Regions from separate parts of the Homo sapiens genome. Here all the other regions are linked to region 2. Evidence: promoter capture Hi-C in 16 types of primary human blood cells and fetal thymus (Javierre and others, 2016). All regions are on one chromosome and are shown on one strand. The core of a region is centred on a gene start or on the middle of the fragment in contact, and the rest is flanking DNA. Distances in the headings are between cores, read along the strand shown. Region 1 overlaps KPNA6 (karyopherin subunit alpha 6). Region 2 holds the start of FAM229A (family with sequence similarity 229 member A). Region 3 overlaps TXLNA (taxilin alpha).

Region 1 (4,705 bases), core at 1,936-4,435, 200 kb before region 2:
ACTGGTCTTTCTTGAAAGGGAAATGTGCAGACCATGGTTGTTCATCCCTTAGGTGGTTCTCTCTCCCACACCTTTCTTTGCTTACATTTAGTAAGCCAAAGATGAACATTCTTAAATTAGGATTGGCTTTACTCTTTAACATTCCAGCTGTATTATACAGTTCAAAGACGAGTAGATATTGTTAAAACCACCTTACCAGAAGGGAGTTTGGGAATGTTTGTAAGGGTGGTCAGAAGTGTCTAAGAAGGATTGCAAGCTGACCCCCATGAAGGGATCAGCAAAAGCTTCTCCTGTGTTTTTATTTTCCCTTCTCCCTTATCCAGAGCCTAGTCCTCCAATAGATGAAGTTATCAACACTCCAAGAGTGGTGGATCGGTTCGTGGAGTTTCTGAAGAGGAATGAGAATTGTACATTACAGGTGAGGCCTGAAGGGAAGGGGTTTGTTTTGTCTTTTAATTTTTGGGGGATACATAGTAGGTATATATATTTATGGGATACATGAGATGTTTTGACACAGGCATGCAATTTGAAATAAGCAAATCATGGAGAATGGGGTATCCATTTCCTCAAGCATTTATCCTTTAAGTTACAAACAATCCAATTATACACTTTAAGTTATTTTAAATTGTGTAGTTATTATTGACTATAGTCACCCTATTGTGTTACCAAATAGTAGGTCTTATTAATTCTTTCTGGGTTTTTTTGTACCCATTACTTATCCCCATCCCACCCCCAGTCCCCCACTACTGGGAAGGGGTTATTAGATGAAAGCCCTACTTCCAAGAAATTGCAGTGGGATACTTCTATTGACATATCTCTCAGGAAGTTCAAAAGTAATGTTAGGAAACATTCAGGAGAAACCATCAGTTCCCTCACAGCCAGAATCTCTTCCTTAAAACAATTTCAAAGGAAAGGCACCAGACTATGATAGACTGATCATTCAGTTATAAATCAGAGGCTATAGTCCACTACCTGTGTGACCTGAGGCAAATTGTTTAGCCTCTCTGGGTCTCTTGTTTCAGAGATGGGTGATGGGTCAATCCATTGGAACTTGCCAGAACTCAGCTGAAAGGGACTTTGAGAGACCCATTTCATTCTAATCCTCATTTCAGAAATGAAGAAAGTGAAGCTCAGGAAATAAAAGAGTGACCTGGCAAAGGATGCATGGGTGTTGTGGTAGTGCAGGACTAAACCTGGGACCCTGGAAGCCCAATGTCTTATTCTCATCTATATCACATCACTGCATCTTCCCACTCTCTAAAGACGGGAGGGGAAAGGCTTGTATTTTATGTGTGTGTGTTTTAAATTCGTGGGCAAGAGGCTTGCTTGTGTTTTGTGAGGTTTTGTTTTGGTTTTTTAAATTCATGGGCAGGAGGCTTACTGTTCTGAGCCAGCTGATAGGCATGGCTGCTCAGTCTGAAATGACCTTTCAATCATTGCTTAATCTCACTTTCAGTTTGAAGCTGCCTGGGCTCTAACGAATATTGCCTCTGGAACCTCTCAGCAGACCAAAATTGTCATTGAAGCAGGGGCTGTCCCCATTTTTATAGAGCTGCTTAATTCAGACTTTGAGGATGTTCAGGAACAGGTAATGCTTAGATTTGGTGTGATTCTTTATAGTACCTGTGGTATAATAAAAAATATATTTGGTCTTTGTCCTGGTTCTTGGCACAGTGTTAAAACTCTTGGAATTTCCTGAGTGATAGGGGTGTCAAGTACAGATGGCCCCTGGGACTTGCAACTGGTATCTCAAGTTGGGGCAGTCTTGTGGGACTAACCTGCGGACTCTGCATTAACTCTAGGTGTTAGAGTCAGAATTGAATTAAATCGTTGGACACATGGTTGGTATCAGAGAATGGGTGGTTGATGTGGAAAAAACTCTATACATTTGTTGTTGGAAGTGCCATTGGAAAAAAGACACCACAGTACCCATATCTGAGTACCCACAAATCATGGAGATAAAGATACAACTTCCATTTCTCCCATTGAATTCTTACTAGTTGGATAGAATTGGAGAGTGGTAGTGGGCTCTTTTATAGACTTGGTCCAAGGCAGCTACAAGAGTGCAACTTTCGCCAGGCGCGGTGGCTCACGCCTATAATCCCAGCACTTTGGGAGGCCGAGGTGGGCAGATCACGAGGTCAGGAGTTCAAGACCAGCCTGACCAACATGGTGAAACTCCATCTCTACTAAAAATACTAAAAAGTTAGCTGGGCATGGTGGAGCTTACCTGTAATCCCAGCTATTCAGGAGGCTTGAGACAGGAGAATCACTTGAACCCGGGAGGTGGAGGTTACAGTGAGCAGAGATTGTGCCACTGCACTCCAGCCTGGGTGACAGAGCGAGACTCCGTCTCAAAAAAAAAAAAAAAAAAAAATGCAACTTTCTGATTACTTTCTCCTTTTCTGGGCGATATTGTTTTGGCTTCTGTGGCTATAGTACAGATGGCAGCCTGTCTTTCCCTGCTGAACCAGGAACTCCCAGGGATAGGTCATTGTAGAACAAGTGCTCAGTAAGAATTTCAATAGGGAGGTTACCTGAGCTTGTGTAGTATATTTGGGGCCTTGACATCATTCTCATCCTGGTGGGTACTCACTTTGCAGTTGTGGCTATAAAGTACTCACAGGAGTACCAAGCTTTGTGGGTGACAGTTTCATTATCCCCTTTTCAGGCAGTCTGGGCACTGGGAAACATAGCTGGAGATAGCTCTGTTTGCCGAGATTACGTCTTGAACTGTTCCATCCTTAATCCTTTGTTAACGTGAGTAATTATAATCATCTGTACCTGGGCGTCTACTGGGTGGCCACGTGGCAGGTCATTTGGGGGCAGCATACTTGATTCCTTAAGATGATAGGTAAGTGCAAAAACTATAAAAATGCATTCTGATTGCCAAAGTAAAAGATAGGTATCTTTGGAGATTGAGAAGGTTGTGGCCGGGCATGGTGGCTTATGCCTGTAATCCCAGCACTTTGGTAGGCCAGAGCAGGTGGATCCCTTGAGCCTAGAGTTCAAAACCAGCCTGGGCAACATGGTGAAACCCCAACTCTACAAAAAATACAAAAGTTAGCCAGGTGTGGTGGCAGGCACCTGTAGACTCAGCTACTTGGGAGGCTGAGGCAGGGAGGATCACCTGAGCCCAGGGAGATCAAGGCTACAGTGAGCTGTGATTGATCACACCACTGCACTTCAGCCTGGGCAAAAGAGTGAAAAAAAAAAAAGATTGTGCCACCCATCTGCCAAAAAGGATCTTGTTCCTCACTTCATGGCACTGCAGAACCTCATGTTAGTCATATCCTCATATCCTCCTCATTGTTGAGCCAGGGGAGAGAGGCAGGACTAGCCCACCTGGAAAAATCCAACCTTCTCTACAAAATGCATTGATTTGTTATGGGGTTTTGCATACATACATCGGACAGCTCTGTCGTAAATTATAGATCAAAGACCCCGTGAAGCGTCATTGTATCCTTCTCCCATCCTTCCCTCCGTACCCTTAGAGTAAACTATGCCTAAACCAAAACAGATGAATGAACTGTTCTTCAGAGACCACAGTCTCATAGCCTACCACTGTCACTTTCTTGGACCCTTCACAGAAAATTATTCCATACTGTGTGGCTAAAGCTCTCACAGTAGACCTATAGCTTTTATTTCTTAGACTTTTAGCTTTTATTTCCAGAGAACACCATTCCTTGTCCTGGACTTGTGGCCAGGGTTATGGGCATGATATATCCCACTTTAGAAGCTTTACAGGCTTACTCCAGATCTAGCCCTCTGTTTCGTCCCTATTATCTATGGTATTAACTAGCCACAGCTGGTCCTGAAATGAATACTCTGTATAGAGCCTGGCCTCCTAACCTATACCAGCTCTATTAACTTAGGTCTGTGAGTAGGAAGAAACAGGCTGCTAGAGTCTGAGAGGTCTCATTGGATTTGTCTCTGGGTTCATTGGCAACAGTCCTATGCCAAGGCCTCAGTGCTCAGGATCTGGCTTTGCTGTTTCCTTCAGACTCCTTACCAAGTCCACACGACTGACGATGACACGGAATGCAGTCTGGGCCCTGTCAAATCTCTGCCGAGGGAAAAACCCACCCCCAGAGTTTGCAAAGGTGAGAGAGCTACTTACTAGACCCTGAGTGACATCAGGTTCCTTCATATGGAGTTTTTAAGTCTTTGGGATACTCCTTGGAGTCTCAAATCATGGGAAACTGAAAGAAGCAATTGTTAGTGAAGTAGATGATCTTGTGTACCTGGATAGTAAAGTGAAAAGGTAGACCCAAATGTTTAATGTAGTAGCGATCCCTAGGGTCTGGAATTACTTGTGTGTGTGTATTGTGGGGGCGGTGGTTGCAATGTTAGGGTTCGTGATAGAGCTGATATAGTCTTGTTCCCCTGTGAGTCTTTCTCACTCTGCTTCCCACAGGTCTCTCCTTGTTTGCCTGTACTGTCTCGCCTACTCTTCAGCAGCGACTCGGACTTGCTGGCAGATGCTTGCTGGGCCCTTTCTTATCTGTCTGATGGCCCCAATGAGAAGATCCAGGCAGTCATAGACTCCGGAGTCTGCCGGAGATTGGTAGAGCTGCTGATGTGAGTGGTCTTAGAAGGGGTACAGGTTCTGGCTGGGCACGGTGGCTTATGCTTATAATCCCAGCACTTTGGGATGCCAAGGTGGGCGGATCACAAGGTCAGGAGTTCGAGACCAGCCTGACCA
Region 2 (4,759 bases), core at 2,187-4,686:
GATCTCAGCTCACTGCAAGCTCCACCTCCTGGGTTCACACCATTCTCCTGCCTCAGCCTCCCGAGTAGCTGGGACTACAGGTTCCCGCCACCACGCCTGGCTAATTTTTTTGTATTTTTAGTAGAGACGGGGTTTCACCATGTTAGCCAGGATGGTCTTCATCTCCTGACCTCATGATCCACCTGCCTCGGCCTCCCAAAGTGCTGGGATTATAGGCGTGATCCATCATGCCCAGCCTAATTTTTTTTAGAGACAGGATCTCACTCTGTTGCTCAGGCTGGAGTGCAGTGGTGTGACCTTGGCTCATTGCAGCGTCAAACTCCTGGGCTCAAGCAATCTTCCTGCCTCAGGCTCCCCGGTAGCTAGGACTACAAGCACACGCCACCATACCTGGTTTTTTTGTTTTGTTTTGTTTTTAGAGATGGGATCTTGCTGTTTTCCATGCTGGTCTTGAACTCCTGGGCTCAAGTGATCCTCCTGCCTCAGCCTCCCAAAGTGCTGGGATTACAGGCCTGAGCCACCATGCCTGGCCTATTTTTTTTTTTTTTTTAAGGAAAGGAGGGTTGAGAAGAGAGGAGAAGGAAGTGGGAGAGATGGAAAAAAAGGAAGAATGAGAAGGATTCACTATTTGGGGGCTGGCAGAGTCCAAAGAGACCAGCTGATGCCTTTTTTTTTTAAACCAGTGAGGAAATAGGCCCTTTTAGTAAGCCTCCTACATGGGGACTGCCTGGGAGAGCATTTTATGTGGAAACTGAGAAGGGTATCCCTTTTGGGTGACGTGGAATTTTAAGGTGCTCTAGGGAAAGCTTGGACTTCTCTACCCTATGAGGATTAGAGGAGGGTGTTGAATCAATTGTCCTTAGATCTCAGGGGACAGGAGACTGAACCTGACCTTTAGGTTACACTCCCCCCGTAACAAAATTGGAAAGTAGAATATACGGGCTCATTAAAGCCAAATTGGAAAGTAGGAAATAGTTGTTTAGCTTAAATACTAGCACCTCCAGGCAGGCTTCCTGTCATGGGCCCCTCCGAGGGCAGATCTTAGGTCATGTGGTCTCAGGATGCTGAGGAGTGTGCTAGACTCTCATTGGGGGACCTTGGGTAAGTCTCAAAGGCTCAGTTCACTCATCTGTAAAATAGGAAGTTAAACCAACGTCTTTCTTTCTCTCTCTTTTTTTTTTTTTTTTGGATAGAGTCTTGCTCTGTTGCCCAGGCTGGAGTGCAGTGGCATGATCTCAGCTCACTGCAACCTCTGCCTCCTGGGTTCAAGGAATTCTCCTGCCTCAGCCTCCCGAGTGGCTGGGATTACAGGTGCGTACCACCACACCCAGCTAATTTTTGTATTTTTAGTAGAGACGGGGTTTCGCCATGTTGGCCAGGCTGGTCTCGAACTCCTGACCTTGTGATCCACCTGCCTCGGTCTCCCAAAGTGCTGGGATTACAGGCGTGAGCCACCGCGCCTGGCAAGCCACCATTTTTCAAATGGCCTCTTCCCCAATCTTTTTATGATCACTTCAGTCCTGGGAGAAACCAAGGCTCAGGATGGACTGGGGCAGCTCCAAACCCTTCCAATAAGGAAGGTCCCAGGCACCTAGGGCCACAAAGAGCAAGTCGCAGAACTTTGTCGCAGAACTTCTCGCTCGAGAGGATTAAAATGGGTCTGGTCGGGTGCCTGTAGTCCCAGCTACTTGGGAGGCTGAGGCAGGAGAATTGTTTGAACCTGGGAGGCAGAGGTTGCAGTGAACAGAGATCATGCCACTGCAGTCCAGCCTGGGAAACAGAGCGAGACTCCATCTCATAGATAGATAGATAGATAGATAGATAGATAGATAGATAGATAGATAGATGATAGATAGATAAGATAGATAGATAGCCTGGTGTGGGTGGCCTATGGCTGTATTCTATGTTACTTGTCGGTCCACCTCTTCCTCCTGTTCCCCGCTTCTGTGGGTTGCCAGGGTCCAGCACAGTGATGTGAATTTCACCGGAGAATCACCAGAGGGTTAGAGAGATGGACCAGGGCAGGGCCCAAGGGAAAGGCTGCCCAGGAGGGGTCAGGACCAGCAAGATACGAGAGGAGTGAAGTGGCGTAGGTTGAAAGGCGGAAGGGCGGGCCCCTAAGGCTGGGTCCAAACGAGGAGGCTGCGGAAGGGAAAGTGTTATTGGACTGGGCAGAGCAGCTGGTGGGCCCGACGGATAGACATACACTGCCAGCCCGGAGTGGAAAGAACAGTTTGTGCTGTGCTTTATTAAAATGTGCATCATTCTTTTATTTTAAAATGTGCATCATTGTCTCGTGCTCGGCGCATGCGACCTCAGCGTGGTGGCCCGCTGGGGGCCTCGTTCCCGCCCAGCTCCCGCGGAGCCGCAGGGAGCAGGCGCACTCACGTGGCGCGGGCCCGGGGGCTCCCGCCCATGGCGAGGTAGACGTCGATGGGCACGTGCAGCAGCGTCAGGCAGTGGCATCCAGGGCAGCGACGAAGCGGCCTGGGGAAATTGACGCGCGACAGGGGCCGCTGAGGCAGGGGCTTGGCCCATCCTGTGGGGCGCACCCAGGGAGTGCACCTGGGGTCCCCGGGGGTCCGGACGTGGATGCGGGGTCCTGACTGCTGGGGGCGCCAAGTGGGACGGAGGGCGGGGCCGCGGGACGGGCGGAGGCGGGGGTGGGGCGCGGGCCTTACCTGACCGGGTTGTGCTCCGTCGCTACCGCCTCCGGGCTGTCCTGGGACTCGGGGGCGGCGGCAAGGCCACGGGAGTCTCCGGCCTCAATGGGGAATCTCCGACCCTGCGGGGGCTCCTGGGCGCTCATGTCCAAGCCCCGGGGCGCTCTGCGCGGGGAGTGGCGGTCAGGCCTCTCCCGGGTCGCCGGGCGCCGCCGCCTCGCGCCCGCCCCCTGGGCCGTCGCTCACCTCCCGGCGGTTGAGACCGGTCCCAGGCTAGAAGCAGCTGCCGGAGCCCTGGCCGCGGGAGAACGCTCCGGTCCAGGCGGAGCCGGGCAGGTCTCTGTGGCGTGCCCGGGCCCGGGCGTCGAGGAGGGCAGCATTGTGACCCGGGCCGCGGCGCGCTGACCTCACAGAGCACGTTCCTCCCACTGGAGAACCCCCAACGGTGCCCCCTGCCGCCCCTGGCACTCAGCGCGGGCCAGAATCGGGGACTGGAGGCCTCTGGCCATGGCGCCTGGAGACGGGGTCGCGCAGACCCCGGACACCCGAGGGGGGCGCAGCAGGCCAGGGCAACCCGCCGCGAGGCGGCGTCCACGCCGAGGAGCCGCGCATTCCCGGTCCACACAGACGCGGCGGAGCGCCCTCCCAGGCGGGACTACAACTCAATGCCTGGCACGGGGGCGGGCTCGGCGGTGACTTAATCCGGGCTGAGTTTGGTGGTGGTAGTGAGGGCAGGTAGGGGCACTGCCCATTTTGGCCAAGGGTCACACAGCATCTACATCACAATTGCACCGGAGTTTAAAAATGTCTGGCCCTGTCCCTCCCCACCACCCGCCGCTGTGTCCAGACAGAGAATGTTCTAACGCTGGGGGCGGCTGCGGATGAAGTCCTTGGGGAGAAAAGGAGCAGGCCAAGGGCGATGGTGGAGTAGAGCTGCCTCTCAGAGGCAGCATGAGCTGAGAGGGTGATAGGAAGGCGGCGCTAGACAGCATGGAGGACTTTCTGCTCTCCAATGGGTACCAGCTGGGCAAGACCATTGGGGAAGGGACCTACTCAAAAGTCAAAGAAGCATTTTCCAAAAAACACCAAAGAAAAGTGGCAATTAAAGTTATAGACAAGATGGGAGGGCCAGAAGGTGAGCCGGGGCCCCTTTGGAGGGAAGGAGGGAGGACTGGCTGAGGTGGGTGGGTGCTTCCTCCTGTTTGTTAGAACGATCATTCGATCATTCCCTGCTCCCGCTGGCCTGGAACCAAGCAAGCCCGATGGCAGCTCTGGAGTGGGTCAGTGGGGAACAGAGGGGTTCTGGGAGTCCAGGAACATTACACCCCCCCAGAATGCAAGATGAAAGTGGCATGAGGTGAAGGATCCTCAGAGGCAAAACCTGAGCCAGGCTTTCCTTTCCGGCAGGGGAACAGAGACTGGCAGAGGCCACAACCAGGGCTGGTAGAGAACAGGGGCTGGTGCCAAGGCCCGTGGAGATGGGAAAAAGGAAGACAGGGCTCATGGAAAGAATTGTGGGGTCAGGGGACAGTGGCGGGAGGAGCTGGCTCACCACCCTGTGGACAAATCAGGCCTTATAATTTGTGATTCTGTGGCTTTGTCTAAAAGTCCCTAAAGCACCTTGATATCCAGTCTCACAGACTGCTCACAACAGTCCACAAGGCTGGTGGGGAGTGCTTCTTTTGAATGATATACTAACGACAAAAATAATAGAAGTGAACATTCTTTGCAATGTCCAAGCAGCTAGACACACTTAAGACCATTAAGAAAGCCAAGAAATAAGACCCAGACAAGGTGGGCAGAAGTTGGAAGGCAGGAGACAGGTGTGAGGAGGTGGGCCTTTCTGATCTGCCAGCCCATCTCTCCTCCCCTTACTTCCTCAGAGTTTATCCAGAGATTCCTCCCTCGGGAGCTCCAAATCGTCCGTACCCTGGACCACAAGAACATCATCCAGGTGTATGAGATGCTGGAGTCTGCCGACGGGAAAATCTGCCTGGTGATGGAGCTCGCTGAGGGAGGGGATGTCTTTGACTGCGTGCTGAATGGGGGGCCACTGCCTGAAAGCCGGGCCAAGGCCCTCTTCCGTCAGATGGTTG
Region 3 (4,290 bases), core at 181-2,680, 180 kb before region 2:
CAAGAATTCTTCATAAGTACTTCATGTTCCATCACAATAAATGCAAAGCATGCTCTTCCCACTTTGTTGTAACATTGTTCAGTGGGTTGGGGGTGGGGCAGCCAGATTCTTCCATCATCAGGTCCCTTGTCAGAATTTGAACTAACAGATTTATCCATTGATGGTCACAGCCTGTGTATGTATGTATGTATGTATGTATGTATGTATTTATTTATTTATTTATTTTTTGAGACGGGGTCTTGCTCTGTCGCCCAGGCTGGGGTGCAGTGGCACGATCTCGGCTCGCTGCAAGCTCCGCCTTCTGGGTTCATGCCATTCTCCTGCCTCAGCCTCCCGAGTAGCTGGGTCTACAGGCGCCCGCCACCATGCTAGGCTATTTTTTTTTTTTTTTTTTTTTTTAGTAGAGACGGGGTTTCACCGTGTTAGCCAGGATGGTCTCGATCTCTTGACCTCGTGATCCGCCCGCCTCGGCCTCCCAAAGTGCTGGGATTACAGGCTTGAGCCACCACGCCTGGCCTATTTATTTATTTATTCAGAGTCAGAGTCTCGCTCTGTCACCAGGCTGGAGTGCAGTGGCGCGATCTCGGCTCATTGCAACCTCCACCTCCCAGGTTCAAGCGAGTCTCCTGCCTCAGCCTCCCGAGTAGCTGGGATTACAGGTGCATGTCACCATGCCTGGCTAAATTTTGTATGTTTTAGTAGAGACAGAGTTTCAGTATGTTGGCCAGGATGGTCTTGATCTCTTGGCCTCGTGATCCGCCCGTCTCAGCCTCCCAAAGTGCTGGGATTACAGGTGTGAGCCACTGTGCCTGGCCTCTAAGTATTTATTTTAAAATTAATTCATTCCACACACATTTATTAATATTTTCCTGTAAGGAACTTTACTCATCTTTAAAATGGGGAATGTCATACCTGCCTAATGACATTCTTGTAAGGATTAAATAAAAGGTATAAGGAAGATAAGCACCCTTTTGGAGTGATCCAGCCAGGGGAAAATTGCTGATGCAAGAGAGGAAATGAGTTGCTAGAGTGGTGTTGTGAGTAGAGGAGGGGAGCTGAGGCCTGCCCAAGAAGGGGGCTTGGCTGTGGTAACCACATGGCTAGGTCTGTGTGACTGGAGGAGAGGACGGGGCAGGTGGACTGGTAGATGTGCAGCTTGTGCCCCTGATTCTCTAGTTTCTTCTGTGTTTTGAGATTTGATGAGAACGATGAAATAGTTGTCTGGAAGGAGAGGAGTGTGAATAGCATATGCATTGTATTGGGATTGCTGGTCTTCCTGAAATTGGTGGCCATGAATTTAAAGTGAGACTCTTCAAGTAGGGTTGTTATAGTACTGGTGTAAAGCAGGAAGGTGCTTTACTAGGGTTGCAGTACTACTGGGGAAGGGCCAAGAGAGTTGAGGGTGTAAGAAATCCAAGCCAGGTAATGTAGTTATTTTAAAGGAGAGTGGAAGGATGGTTGAGTCAATGGATTGGAGGTCCTATAGGGTAAGAGACTTTCTGAGGATCACAGATACTGATTGGAATGAGCTAAAAAGATAGGTGATGGTAGTCCTGGACTGGGATGCTGGAAATTGAGATAGTGGGTGTGCTCTCTGGTAGTGACAAAGTCTAGATCTGCGCTGTCCAAGATAAATTCGTCTCTAGCTAATTGACATGTGGCCAGTTTGAATTTGAACATGCTATAAATGTAAGATACACATCAGCTTTTGAAGACTTAAGCAAAAACAAAGAATATAAAACATCTTTTTGTGAGAGAGTGTCTCAGTCACCCAGGCTGGAGTGCAGTGGCGTGATGTCCTGCTTCCAGGTTCAAACGATTCTCCTGCCTCACAGCCTCCTGAGTAACTGAGATTACAGGCGCATGCCACCAAACTGGCTACTTTTTTGTATTTTTTTTTTAGTAGAAACGGTTTCACCATGTTGGCCAGGCTGGTCTTGAACTCCTGACCTCAAGTGATCTGCCTGCCTCAGCCTCCCAAAGTGCTGGGATTACAGGCATGAGCCACCACTCCCGGCCTCACTTTTTTACATTGATTCCGTGTTGAAATTGTAATGTTTTGGATATTAGGTTAAATACATATATTACTAAAATTAATTTCACCTGTTTTTTACTTTTTTAGTGCGGCCAGTAGAATATTTTTAATTACTTATGTGGTTTGCATTATATTTCTGTTGTACAGGCCTGGATAGGGTCATGGGAGGGGAACTGAGCTGGGGAAAGGAGTGGGTTTGTGGAAGAGGTGATGGACTGTGAGGCCAGGGAGTTAGAAGGATTATCTGTTGATACTGAAGTGGCCACAAATGAGAAAAGTAATTGTGTTGGGGAGAGCGCTGATGAACGCAGCGCTAACGTTTTGAAGGAATGCGAGGGAGCGATGGGGGTCTGTCTGTTAATAGGCACAAGGTACGGTAGCAGGTGGTCTCATCCTCGGGCATGAGTGTCCAGCAAGTTGGGGAAATGCAACAGCTTGAAGTGGCTCTAGTGGCCCAGAGTCAGAGCTGGAATAGGAATTGGCATCTGCTGGCTGTGTGGCCCCTGCTTGCCCTAGTGAGTTACCATTTCTCTGTCCCTACGGTGGAGCCTTTGGGGTTATTGTGAGTTCATGGGAGGAGCGTGTAAGCACCGGCACAGCATCAGCCCATGAGAGTGCTCCTGGCCTGAGAGGGTAAGGGTCAGGGCAGCTCAGGAGACCCTAGACCTGCATAGTGATCCCCCCACCAGGAAGGCCCCACAAGATGCTCACCTGCCCTCCCTATCCCTGTCCCCAGCTGGAGGAGCACCGGAATTCACAGAAGCAGATGAAGCTCCTACAGAAAAAGCAGAGCCAGCTGGTGCAAGAGAAGGACCACCTGCGCGGTGAGCACAGCAAGGCCGTCCTGGCCCGCAGCAAGCTTGAGAGCCTATGCCGTGAGCTGCAGCGGCACAACCGCTCCCTCAAGGTAGGCCTGGGCCCCCTGGAACAGGTGACTCTGGTTTCCTTGACTTCCACTTAATGTTTCTTTCATGGGCTTTCCTCTTAAAAAGTAGTGCAGGCTAGGGCCAGGCGCAGTGGCACACATAAGTGATTAAAAATCTTCTGGCCACTAAAAAACAGAAATTAATTTTAGTAATATACTTAACCCAATATCCAAAACATTACAATTTCAACATGAAATCAGTGTAAAAAAGCAAGGCTGGGTGTGGTGGCTCACACCTGTAATCCCAACACTTTGGGAGGCTGAGGTGGATGGATCACTTGAGGCCAGGAGTTTGAGACCAACCTGGTCAACGCAGTGAAACCCCATTCTACTAAAAATACAAAAATTAGCCGAGTGTGCTGGCAAATGCCTATAATCCCAGCTACTCAGGTGGCTCAGGCATGAGAATTGCTTGCACCTGGGAGGCTGAGGTTGCAGTGAGCCGAGATTGCATCACTGCATTACAGCCTGGGCAACAGAGTGAGACTCAGTGTCCAAAAAAAAAAAAAAGTAGTGCAGGCTTGTGGCATAGAAATACACTTTCTCAATAATGCCTTACGTTAAGAGAGTACTGCTTGTAATCATTTGACATGTATTAGATAAGGTGAAGGATAAAGTACTAAGAGAATCCATAATGCACTGGCGTTAGTATTTCTCAATGAAATGACAGTCCCCTGGTAAGCGGAGGCCTGGCTCTGACAAGCAGCTCTTGTCCCAGACGTTGGTCAGTCAGGAACCTGGGTCCTTCCCATGTTCTGCTGCTTCTATGGTGAGGTCAGTCTGTGGTTACACCAAGTTTAAATACAGCCTTTTAACTTTCTTTTTTATATGTAAAATCTTACATGTAGTTTTTAGAATGAAATTATTATACATGTACCATTTCATATCCTGTGCCTTTTTTTCACTTTACATAACATTTTTCCCTATCAGTATGTGTAGGGCTATCTTCTCATTATATGGATATATTATATCAGTGCCCTAGTTAAAGCATTTTGGGGGTTGTTTACAATTTTTCATTATTACATATAGAACTATAGTGAAAATTCTTGTTATATTTATCACTGGTCAGTTATATAGAACTTATCTGTAGGATAAGTCATGGAATTGAAATGGCTAGGTCACAGTATATGCAGATTTTTCATTTTAATAGATTTTGCTGGATTGCCTTCCAGTGAGGGGGCAGTGTGCCTTCCCCATCAAAAGTGTTGAGTGCCTAATTCTGCACAACTTTGCAAACCCTGGGTGTTACTAAATTTTAACAGCTTGGTCTCTGGGGGTACAGAGGGGACAAATGCACATTAATCTGAAATCTGGAAGAATAGGCCTTAGG

Evidence for each region. The method cuts DNA at HindIII sites, captures the fragments that hold promoters and counts their contacts. A CHiCAGO score of 5 or more calls a contact.
Region 1: a contact is called between a fragment that was not itself captured here and the fragment with the promoter of FAM229A in region 2, in 1 of 17 cell types (naive CD8 T cells). The highest score is 5.4, in naive CD8 T cells.
Region 3: a contact is called between a fragment that was not itself captured here and the fragment with the promoter of FAM229A in region 2, in 2 of 17 cell types (non-activated CD4 T cells and naive CD8 T cells). The highest score is 8.2, in non-activated CD4 T cells.

What each region holds. Positions count from the first base shown.
Region 1 is chr1:32,157,944-32,162,648 of GRCh38, forward strand. It overlaps KPNA6 (karyopherin subunit alpha 6), which reads left to right. Exons shown (of 14, transcript NM_012316.5): 5 at 324-418; 6 at 1,457-1,588; 7 at 2,672-2,760; 8 at 4,004-4,103; 9 at 4,418-4,581. Among named protein-coding and RNA genes, the nearest start is that of TXLNA, 19 kb to the right of the region's middle. The HindIII fragment of the contact is 1,103 bases long and covers 2,635-3,737 here.
Region 2 is chr1:32,359,049-32,363,807 of GRCh38, forward strand. It overlaps FAM229A (family with sequence similarity 229 member A), which reads right to left and starts at 3,437. Exons shown (of 3, transcript NM_001167676.2): 1 at 2,910-3,437; 2 at 2,682-2,828; 3 at 2,222-2,487. The coding sequence starts at 3,043. The coding sequence ends at 2,385. It overlaps TSSK3 (testis specific serine kinase 3), which reads left to right and starts at 3,491. Exons shown (of 2, transcript NM_052841.4): 1 at 3,491-3,798; 2 at 4,547-4,759. The coding sequence starts at 3,654. It overlaps LOC124903933 (a long non-coding RNA gene), which reads left to right. Exons shown (of 3, transcript XR_007065642.1): 3 at 1-2,280. RefSeq lists silencers at 2,719-3,018, 3,169-3,368. The HindIII fragment of the contact is 11,112 bases long and covers 805-4,759 here.
Region 3 is chr1:32,185,183-32,189,472 of GRCh38, forward strand. It overlaps TXLNA (taxilin alpha), which reads left to right. Exons shown (of 11, transcript NM_175852.4): 5 at 2,772-2,942. Among named protein-coding and RNA genes, the nearest start is that of TXLNA, 7.7 kb to the left of the region's middle. The HindIII fragment of the contact is 2,923 bases long and covers 1-2,892 here.